3 separate regions of the Homo sapiens genome follow, and regions 2 and 3 are each linked to region 1. The links are contacts of gene promoters, found by promoter capture Hi-C in blood cells and fetal thymus (Javierre and others, 2016). All regions are on one chromosome and are shown on one strand. Each heading gives the region's core, a stretch centred on a gene start or on the middle of the fragment in contact. The rest is flanking DNA. Distances are from core to core; before and after follow the strand shown.

What was found. Contacts are between HindIII fragments. The CHiCAGO score rates a contact against its expected background, and 5 or more counts as called.
Region 2: a contact is called between the fragment with the promoter of CWC15 here and the fragment with the promoter of DCUN1D5 in region 1, in 1 of 17 cell types (total B cells). The highest score is 7.8, in total B cells.
Region 3: a contact is called between a fragment that was not itself captured here and the fragment with the promoter of DCUN1D5 in region 1, in 1 of 17 cell types (fetal thymus). The highest score is 10.4, in fetal thymus.

Annotation. Positions count from the first base shown.
Region 1 is chr11:103,090,599-103,093,663 of GRCh38, forward strand. DCUN1D5 (defective in cullin neddylation 1 domain containing 5) reads right to left here and starts at 1,562. Exons shown (of 8, transcript NM_032299.4): 1 at 1,189-1,562. The coding sequence starts at 1,274. RefSeq lists enhancers at 682-1,299, 1,300-1,917, 1,847-1,896, 1,967-2,016 and a silencer at 862-1,156. The HindIII fragment of the contact is 604 bases long and covers 1,162-1,765 here.
Region 2 is chr11:94,972,153-94,975,217 of GRCh38, forward strand. CWC15 (CWC15 spliceosome associated protein) reads right to left here and starts at 1,404. Exons shown (of 7, transcript NM_016403.4): 1 at 1,346-1,404; 2 at 1-41. The coding sequence starts at 33. It overlaps KDM4D (lysine demethylase 4D), which reads left to right and starts at 1,557. Exons shown (of 3, transcript NM_018039.3): 1 at 1,557-1,916. RefSeq lists enhancers at 681-1,456, 1,171-1,340, 1,661-1,810. The HindIII fragment of the contact is 9,854 bases long and covers 1-3,065 here.
Region 3 is chr11:108,219,795-108,222,859 of GRCh38, forward strand. NPAT (nuclear protein, coactivator of histone transcription) reads right to left here and starts at 2,844. Exons shown (of 18, transcript NM_002519.3): 1 at 2,706-2,844. The coding sequence starts at 2,742. RefSeq lists an enhancer at 2,740-2,799. The HindIII fragment of the contact is 1,593 bases long and covers 1,020-2,612 here.

The sequences.
Region 1 (3,065 bases), core at 312-2,811:
TAATATGGTTATTTTTTAAAAAAGCATTTCTCAGTCGGGCGAGGTGGCTCACTCCTGTAATCCCAGCACTTTGGGAGGCCGAGGCGGGCGGATCGCGAGGTCAGGAGTTCAAGACCAGCCTAGTCAACATAGTGAAACCCCGTCTCTACTAAAAATACAAAAAATTAGCAGGGCGTGGTGGCGGGCGCCTATAATCCCAGCTACTCAGGAGGCTGAGGCAGGAGAATCGCTTGAACCCGGGAGGCGGAGGTTGCAGTAAGCGGAGATCGCGCCACTGCACTCCAGCCTGGACAACAGTGGAAGACTCCGTCTCAGAAAAACAAAACAAAACAAAAAAACAAAAAAACCATTTCTCAAACCAAAATTGCAGTTTTTTTGTAGCATAAATTTTGCTGTGATGCCTCCATGATATGCTACAAGGGGATCAAAGAGCTACTACTATATAGTTCTGCCTTGTCTTCTTTCTTACCAGTAGGACAGAGTACAAGAGCTCACAAATTATTTAATTTATGCTGAGAGCTAACAGCGTCCTGAATGCTAGAAGACAAAAAGCATGCAGGGCCTTTCCAACTCTGCACACAGGGACTTGGCATAGGTGAGGCACTATACTTCCAGAAAATGGGGCTCCTGCAATTTAAAAGGCCTCCTGCTGGGACCTTCCGGGTTAGGCCACTCCAAATACTAAATATGGAGGCCAATTATAGCATACAAGTTTTCCTTTCTACCATTCCCAAGACAGTTGTCAAGATTCCTTATGTTCTGCTTTCTTCACACTCTACAAAGAAATTCTAGAAGTGACCCTTCTGCGGATATGTACTCACTTCTAAGTCTAGAAAAAGGCAGAGGAGCGATACGGGAGTAGGGGATCGAGGGTCGGTTGTGGGGTGGGGGTGGGGGTGGGGGGAAGCGCAATTTACATATGCATCTGTTCCCCACCCTGCAGGGCACGTAGACTCTTAACGTGGGCGGCTCTTCTAGTCTCTCCATAAACGCCAGCGTGCACACACTCGAACACGAGGTCGGGTCGGGCGCGGAGACTCGCGGTGTTCGGCACCTACAGCCTAGCTCGATCAAAGGGGCCTCACCTGTCTCCAGCCCCAGCCCGGCAGGCCGGGCCCGACTCCTTTTCCTCCAGTTGTCCAGCAAAGGAGGGAGGAGGGAAGCTTGAAGGGTGGGGGGAGATGGTACCTGGAGATTTTACACTTTTTGAGGCCTCCGTCTTCCGCTACTGCTGCTGCCACCCCAGGGGATTTTCTCTTCTTCTTCACCGGCATCTTCCGCCCTCCCCGGCAGGGTGGGCAGGGGAGCCGGGGAAGGGGGTCCCTGTCCGCTGGAAGCCCCTCAGCGCTGGCACCCAGTTCCCAGAGACAGCAGCAAGCGGAGGAGCAGAGTCGCCAGCCCGCACCGGCGCGGCCCAGCCCGGCCGCCGCCCGCTCCCAGGTATCCTCGTCGTCTTTCTCTGACCGGGACAGGGCTGGCTCCTCGCCGGTGGACACTGCGGTTCGTTCTCACCGGGAGGAGATAACGCGGACAGCGCGGCAGCTCCACCAGTCACAGCAAGCAAGAGGCTCAGCCTAACCCGGAGGCGAATCGCTGAGGCCCGGAAGTGACGCAATCGCGGAGCCGGTCCCGGGAAGGGGCGTGGTTCCGGTTAGCCTCTGCCACTCGTAGGTAGGCCAGGCAGAGCGAAGCTGTCTGACCCGTCGACTGCGGCAGTCCGCGGAATTCTTGTATCCTGTCCAGGGTATCCTGACCTTTCTCATGAAGCTTCTACCGCGCTCTGATGCTGGCAGTCACCGCCAAAAAGTGAAACTACTAATACTTTGCAGTTGACGTTAAAAACAACCTGGTAAAGTAGACCAAGTTCCACTTCTGAGCTCTTCCACACGATAACCTCACCTGAAGTGTTCCCACCCCGTAAATGCATTGTCACCCTGTGTCTTGCGTGTTTTTTTTATGGGCCTGTGATCAGCCACCCACTCCCCCTTCTCCCTACCTTTGCATATCACTTTGTCCTGTATTGAAACTTAGCTCTGCCATTATTTCCACAGAGCTCACCTCTCCGATAAGAGACAGTAGGTGACTGCGACTCAGTAGAGAGAAATTTGGGGGACAGTTCTAAGGAACCTCCCCCTAGACCCAAAACACACTGTAATCTATTCATCTCCACTTAGGTGGAAATACTGTTTTTAAATAATGGTTATTGTATGTAAAGACATAGTAGAAAGTCGTTAGTAATTCTGTTGGTAAAATAATCTCTGCAAACCAACTGTGATGGGAGAAGACTAAAAGTCTTTGAGTAATAGTTGAAGTGGTTCCTGTGAAACTACCCTCACAATGGCACCCTAATCTGGTCAATCCGAATATCATATTTCCTTAGTGTTATTAATTGGTTCAGGATGGACACATACTCAGGCCAGGCCAATGAGTGCCAATGACACAAAATTGAACCACCAGAAAGCAATTTTATTTCCTATGGATTTGAACCAGAGAAGGTATGGAGAATGAAGCCAAAACTCAGAAGAGACTAGTATCAAGCAGAAAAATAGAAAAACCAGGATGTGATTATATGATATGAGCCCAAAATCCATGATATGCCCTGGAATTTTCACTTATGTGAAGCAACAAATTTCACTATTTTGCATATTTAGTTCAATTCTCTGTTACTTAAAACCAAAAGAATGTCAAAGTATATGATCCTTCAACCCATTTAAAAATGCCTGAGGCCAAAATCAAAACAGAATCAGATAAAGTCTCTAAATAGAACTACCATCTACAAAAAGTACAGGACAGAGGAACATGTTAAATACCCAATGCAATCAGCAATATCTAGACGTCAGAAAAGTCTACAGGACAATGACCCAAATTCTGCAACAAATTATTAGGACGAGAGGAGAGAGAAGGAAATTAAAAGACTTAAAGGATATGTCAATCATTTTCAGTATGCAGTTCTTATTTGAATTTGACTCACACAAACAGTTTAAACAATATGATAACATCTCTGTGGCAATTGGAGATGTTAATGCTGGCTGGATATTTGATGAAATTCTAGAACATGTAAAACT
Region 2 (3,065 bases), core at 154-2,653, 8.1 Mb before region 1:
AGGTTCAAAGGTTGGCCTGGCTGCTGTTGTCATCTTTTATGCTTTGAAGAAAAATATAATCAAGTTATTTCCAACATTACAAACACTCATTTTATAGAGTATTAATCAATATCCATACTGGTAAAATAAGTTCTAAAACTCATTCCCCAAAACCTGCTTAATCTTCTTAAACAAAAGTTTTCAAGAAAACAAATTATGAGGCTTAGGCTGTACAAGGAATATGGCTTCTCAGGCTTGCCTTAGTACAAAAAATTCTGTCATGAAGATCTGAGTTTGCATCCCTATTCTCCTTCTGACTATATGGGCTTGAGCAAGTCACCTGGCTTAACTTTGTCATCTGTGGAATGGAGATATTCCTCATAGATTATAAGAATTATGACACTTGACATGTCAAAACCCTAGTAAAATACAGTACTGCCATGACTGAGTTTTAAAAATTTCCAACTCAACCTTACTCTACCAGACTCTGTAAGGTTTGCATTTTATCTAAACTTCACACAATAGCAAATAGGCTAGTAGAAACAAAAGCTAAAAACAAACAAAAAATATCACTGACAAAGTTACTAAATGTCCCAGAGAAAAGTGTGTTAAACTTCAATGACAGTTACACAGAAAAAAATTCTTAAACAACCGTTTGTTGAGCCAATTTTCTCCTACAACAGGCATCATACTATAAATTAGATCGTTTGTGGGTTATAATTTAAGGCCTGTTCAAAAAAAACAGGAACCTCACCCCCAGAGGATTCTGATGCCAAAAATCAGGGACTCATTCCTCAAGTTACTTTCTGCTTGGAGCAGTCACAAGAATACTGTGCAGCAGATGCAGTCACTAAAACCCTGTTAGTGTCGGAAAAGCAAGTGTGTGGGGAGGGTGGGCGAATTGGGAGGATTTTTTGGGGGGGGGGCGATGCTAATTCTCTCAACTTTCAAAAAGGGTAGAGACATGTATACAAAGAAGAAAACAGGGTTATCTGGCGCTGGGGGCGCCGCCCCTTCCCACACACCCACGGAATTATCACTCCGGCCTCCCGTGAGCTAGTCTTTGGCTATAACCAGAAACTCGCTGCCTCTTCACCCGTGCCCAGCACTGCAGGGGTGCGAAGGGTAGTGAAGGGAGGACCTGGGGTTCGCTTTACGCAGTAGGCGAGCTGCCTGTACGCTGCGATCTCCTCGGCGGGCCCAAGAGCTCCAGACGCGCCTGACAGGCACTCGGTTCCGCCCCTAGCCCGCTGCTCCAGGGCCTCCACCGCCCGCGCTCTGCACTCTGCCGCCGACTCCGACCCCAACTGCCCTTTCCCGTCCCATCGCGATAAGAAAGATAATCTCCTATCCTCTTGCCGCTCACACTGGCCGAGGTCCGATGCAGCAGGCTCCGAAGATCATACAGACGCCATTACCACTCTTGGCTCCCAGAAACCTCTGCGCCCAGAGCTAGCGCCTACGACCCGGAAGCAAAATCCAAGCGCTTCGGGGGCGGAAGCAACGACCAATCCGCAGTGGCCGAAGTGGAAGTCGGCGTAACGGCACTAAGGGGCGGGGCCGAAGCGGCCCAGGGGGCGGGCGTTTGAAATCAGTGCCTTAGAGTAGACCCTAAACCTCATTTTATACCTTCAAGAACCAATTACTTAATGTCTCTTCCGTCTTTTCCGTCCCCGACCCCCTCCCAGACTCCTTCATTCCGGTACTGCGTGGACGGAAAGCCCCGGGTAGCCGACACCACGTCCCCGGCTAGCGGGAGAGAGCGTGGAAAAGGATTACACCAAACTGTTTAAATCCAACGACTCCTGCTTCCATCCTTTCTCCTGAGCTAGAACCAACAAACCTAGAGAGTTGGGCTTCGGAAAAACTAGTGTTTTCATTTAATTGGATATGAAGAAAGAACAAATATGTACGGGGCAACCACGATCTTTACAAAGGTACCATTCCTGCAAAAATATTAACACTTCAAAGCAAAGGTTGTATTCGTAATGTTTGCTAAAATTTCTTATTTAAAAAACGTTAGTTTTAGTGGGAGGGGAGATGTCAGTATTTACGAGAGCGTTTACAATGGTGGGCCCAACTACCAGGAGCACAAGATGTAATTATTAAGATGGCTACTTAAGTGTTAAGTTTTAATAAGACAACGAAAAGTAGAAAACCCGAAAACCAAAAACCTACCAGTCGTCTCTCCTCCCTTCCATAAAAACAAATTCTGAGAATAGAGATCTTGGTTGTTTAGCTCATCTTGGTATCTCATCACATAGACCTTGACGTATAGTAGCTGCTCAATTAATATTTGTTAAACAAATGAAAATTCAACTTCCCCAACTTAGTTTAAAATGTAAGGAACTCACAAAATTGAATATTTAAATGCTTTCTTACCCCTAAATTCTTTGCAACTTTTTAATGAAGAAAGAAAAGCAGAAAAAGCCCTTTCAGTCATAGAGTTCAAGATGAAAATCCTGATTTTTCTTACCGAAGGTATCCCTCCTCCAGTCTTAACAAGTCTCACTAAAAGACGCGATCATCATGCTAGTTACTCAAACCAAAATCCCGGAGTGCCTACTTAAATTCCTTTTCATTCACTCTTCACATACGGTTCATTTACAGGTCTTAACAATTCTACTTTTAAAACTCACCCGCAATTTTATTCTACTGCCACTACCCTTGCCTTTGCCAACACCATCTCCTACCTGGATTGTAATTGCTTCCTATTATATCTTCCTGCGTCATCTTTTATCCTACAGTCAGTGTTGCATATAGCCAAGAGAGTGATCTTTTAAAATTAATAAAATGGTGTTACTATCCTGTGTACAATTTCACTGCACTTAGAATAAAAATCACATTTCTTAATGTGACCTGAGACCCCACGGAGTCTGGTTCCTGCCTACCTTCCAGACTTCACTTCCAATCAGTCACTCGCTTACGCACTAAGCTCTAGACACAGCCAAGTGGGCATTTCTGTTTTATAAAACAGGGCAAGATTCCTTCTATTTTAGGGCCTTTGCACTAGCTTTTCTCTGTTGCCTGTGCCCCAAAGTAACTGTATCACCATCCTTCATGTCTCAGGTATCACAGTGAGGTTT
Region 3 (3,065 bases), core at 566-3,065, 5.1 Mb after region 1:
TTTAAGTGTTGAATTTTGTTAGTATATTTTATCAAAAAAAAGTAAACACACATCTACAATGAGACATGATAAGGTTGTAACAGAAGTACAATGCTATGGCAACATTTAAGAAGTACTGACTGTACTTGCTGAATGAAGTTTCAGAGATCAGGCATGACCTGAACCTTGAATAGAAGTGTACTAGGAAGACAAAGAGAAGTAGAATACATACAAGAATTTTCAAAGAAACTTCAATTCGTTTGGCATGTCTGCAGCATAAAACAGATGTTAGGAAGTTGAGATCAAGTTGGAGAGGTAGGTAGGATCAGTTCCACAGAGCACCTTGAATAAATAGATAAAAACTGAACTGATGGCCCAGAGGCAACAAACACTTTGATGTATTCTGGCCCACACAACATTTTGTAAAATCCCAGCAAGGCAATAAGGGCTACTTAAGTGGAGTAGTGAGATGCAAAAGTCAGAGTGCAGTATCCTGAAGGATAAAAGGTAGGTGAAGAACAGCAACTAAGTGGAATTCATTGTTCTTTGAATAAATTTGACTTGTGAAAGGGTGACACAGAACATAAGACAGAATGTTCTGTTTAATGGGTGTCTAATGTCTAGTGGGGTCCAGAAAAGTGTTTTTTTGTGTGTATGTTTAAGAATTTAAAAAAAACCTAATTATCTGAACACTAAGGGGAGAAAACTTAACTTCTCTATGTTCAGCAATTGGCACAGTGTTTGGAACATACTAGGCACCCAAAGATTTGCTAGAAAAAAAACATTATGAAGGGACCAATAACAAGAGGAGCTGAAGATGGCGAGGGGGTACTGATAGGAAAAGAATCATGAGTAAATAATAAACCTCATATGAGAAAGATATACACGATATGTATCTATTTAAGATGTAAAATGATAAACGACAAAAGTAAGAGCATTAGGCATGGGGAGGCTTTTTTGTATTGTATACTCCTGCCCATCTGAAATTTTTAGTAAGAATAGAATTATCTCAACTTTCAGACTAAAAGGTATAGTGTGAAAGCTTCAGGGAGATTTGTAACAACAGTAAATAAAATGAATTGCGAGGACAACTGTCTGGGAAGCCATGACAGAAGTCCAAAAGAGAAGTAATGGCAGGCACATTGCGGGATTGGTGGCAGTGAAAATGGAATGTGAATGACAAAGATTTTTAAGATAAGAAAACCATGGCTGGCGTTTTTTGTCCATTAAATGAAAAGCAGGAAGTCAGCAGAGTAGCTGGTTTGTGGAGAAAGAATACTCACACATCGATGTGAATTATTTCAATTAGAAAATGATACTGCTTTCTTAGGGCTTTCTTAACTAGGGGTGATTCTGCCCTCCAGGGGACATACTAGCAATATCTAGAGACATTTTCACTGATCACAACTGGGTAAGGGTAGGGTGGGGAACGGGTGTCCTACTGTAATCTAGTGAATAGAAGCCAGGAATGCTGCTAAACATCCTACAATGTTTGAGCACAGGATAGCTCCCCACAATAAAGAATTATGAGGCCCAAAATGTTAACAGTACTGAGGCTGAGAAACCATGTTTAAGACTATAGTTACCGAAACTCAACTAGATTACCAAACTGCCAAAACTCAGAATTCTTAAGCAAAAGATTAATCAGACATTAACAAAACATTAAACTTGTCATTAAGTTTCTTCAAAAATGGATGGTGGAACCATTTCCGTTTAACGTTTCCTGCAAAATGTGCTTATCAAGAGCCCTGCGCAAATAACATTTTTGTGGACAGCGCTGGGCATTTAAAAGAGGCACAAGACAAATGGGTTTTCCGAACAATAAAATAATAGTAGTAATGGCTGTGAATACTATGGGAGGTTTCATCACAGATGCTTGCCATTTACTTTTAGGGACGTCGCATACGACGTCCGTAAATTACTGGCTCGGGTTTTGAGCTTTACCTGGCTCTCGTCCCCTGTAGTACAATCCTCTTTATTCTTTCAGGGGACAAACAACAACAAAACCCGTCTCTCACACAGACAATACACCCTGACAGACAAGTGACCCACAAACAATCCCTCCTCAAATGAAGGTAAAACTAGGGCTAGAAAACGTTCAACTAATTTAAGGCAATTAACCCTCTGAAATTTTTCGCTGATCAAAGGAACAGGAATTGCTGTTTTAAAATATGCAACTGGCATTTCACACCTCTACACTGGACGACGTATTGCGTGGAGGATGGAGAAGGAAGATCACCCCTACTCCCAAATTCGTAGTTATAAGGGCGGGTTATTAGAAGGGCGCCAGGAAGGTCTCTCTACAAAGATGGGGGGCCGGGGAACTCCCTATTTGCCCTATTTTGGTCCCAACACTGAACCAAGGAAATTGCGCCCAAGGTTGAAGCACACGCAATCCGTCCGTCATGCAGACAAATGCTCTTTCAGGGGTCCTAATTAAGTGTGGAGGCCTGACTTTCCTTCCGAATCCGCCCCAGGTGTTCCACCCCGAGCTTCCCCTCGGGCTTCCCCTCGCCACGCAGCCTCTGAAGAGAGGAGCATCTACATACAAAGAGGCTTAAACTGCCCAGAACCTCCGAATGACGAAGAATCACCGCCAGTCTCAACTCGTAAGCTGGGAGGCAAAACCCCAAAGCTTCCCTACCAAGGGAAAACCTTTGGCCTCAAAGGTCCTTCTGTCCAGCATAGCCGGGTCCAATAACCCTCCATCCCGCGTCCGCGCTTACCCAATACAAGCCGGGCTACGTCCGAGGGTAACAACATGATCAAAACCACAGCAGGAACCACAATAAGGAACAAGACTCAGGTTAAAGCAAACACAGCGACAGCTCCTGCGCCGCATCTCCTGGTTCCAGTGGCGGCACTGAACTCGCGGCAATTTGTCCCGCCTCTTTCGCTTCACGGCAGCCAATCGCTTCCGCCAGAGAAAGAAAGGCGCCGAAATGAAACCCGCCTCCGTTCGCCTTCGGAACTGTCGTCACTTCCGTCCTCAGACTTGGAGGGGCGGGGATGAGGAGGGCGGGGAGGACGACGAGGGCGAAGAGGGTGGGTGAGAGCCCCGGAGCCCGAGCCGAAGGGCGAGCCGC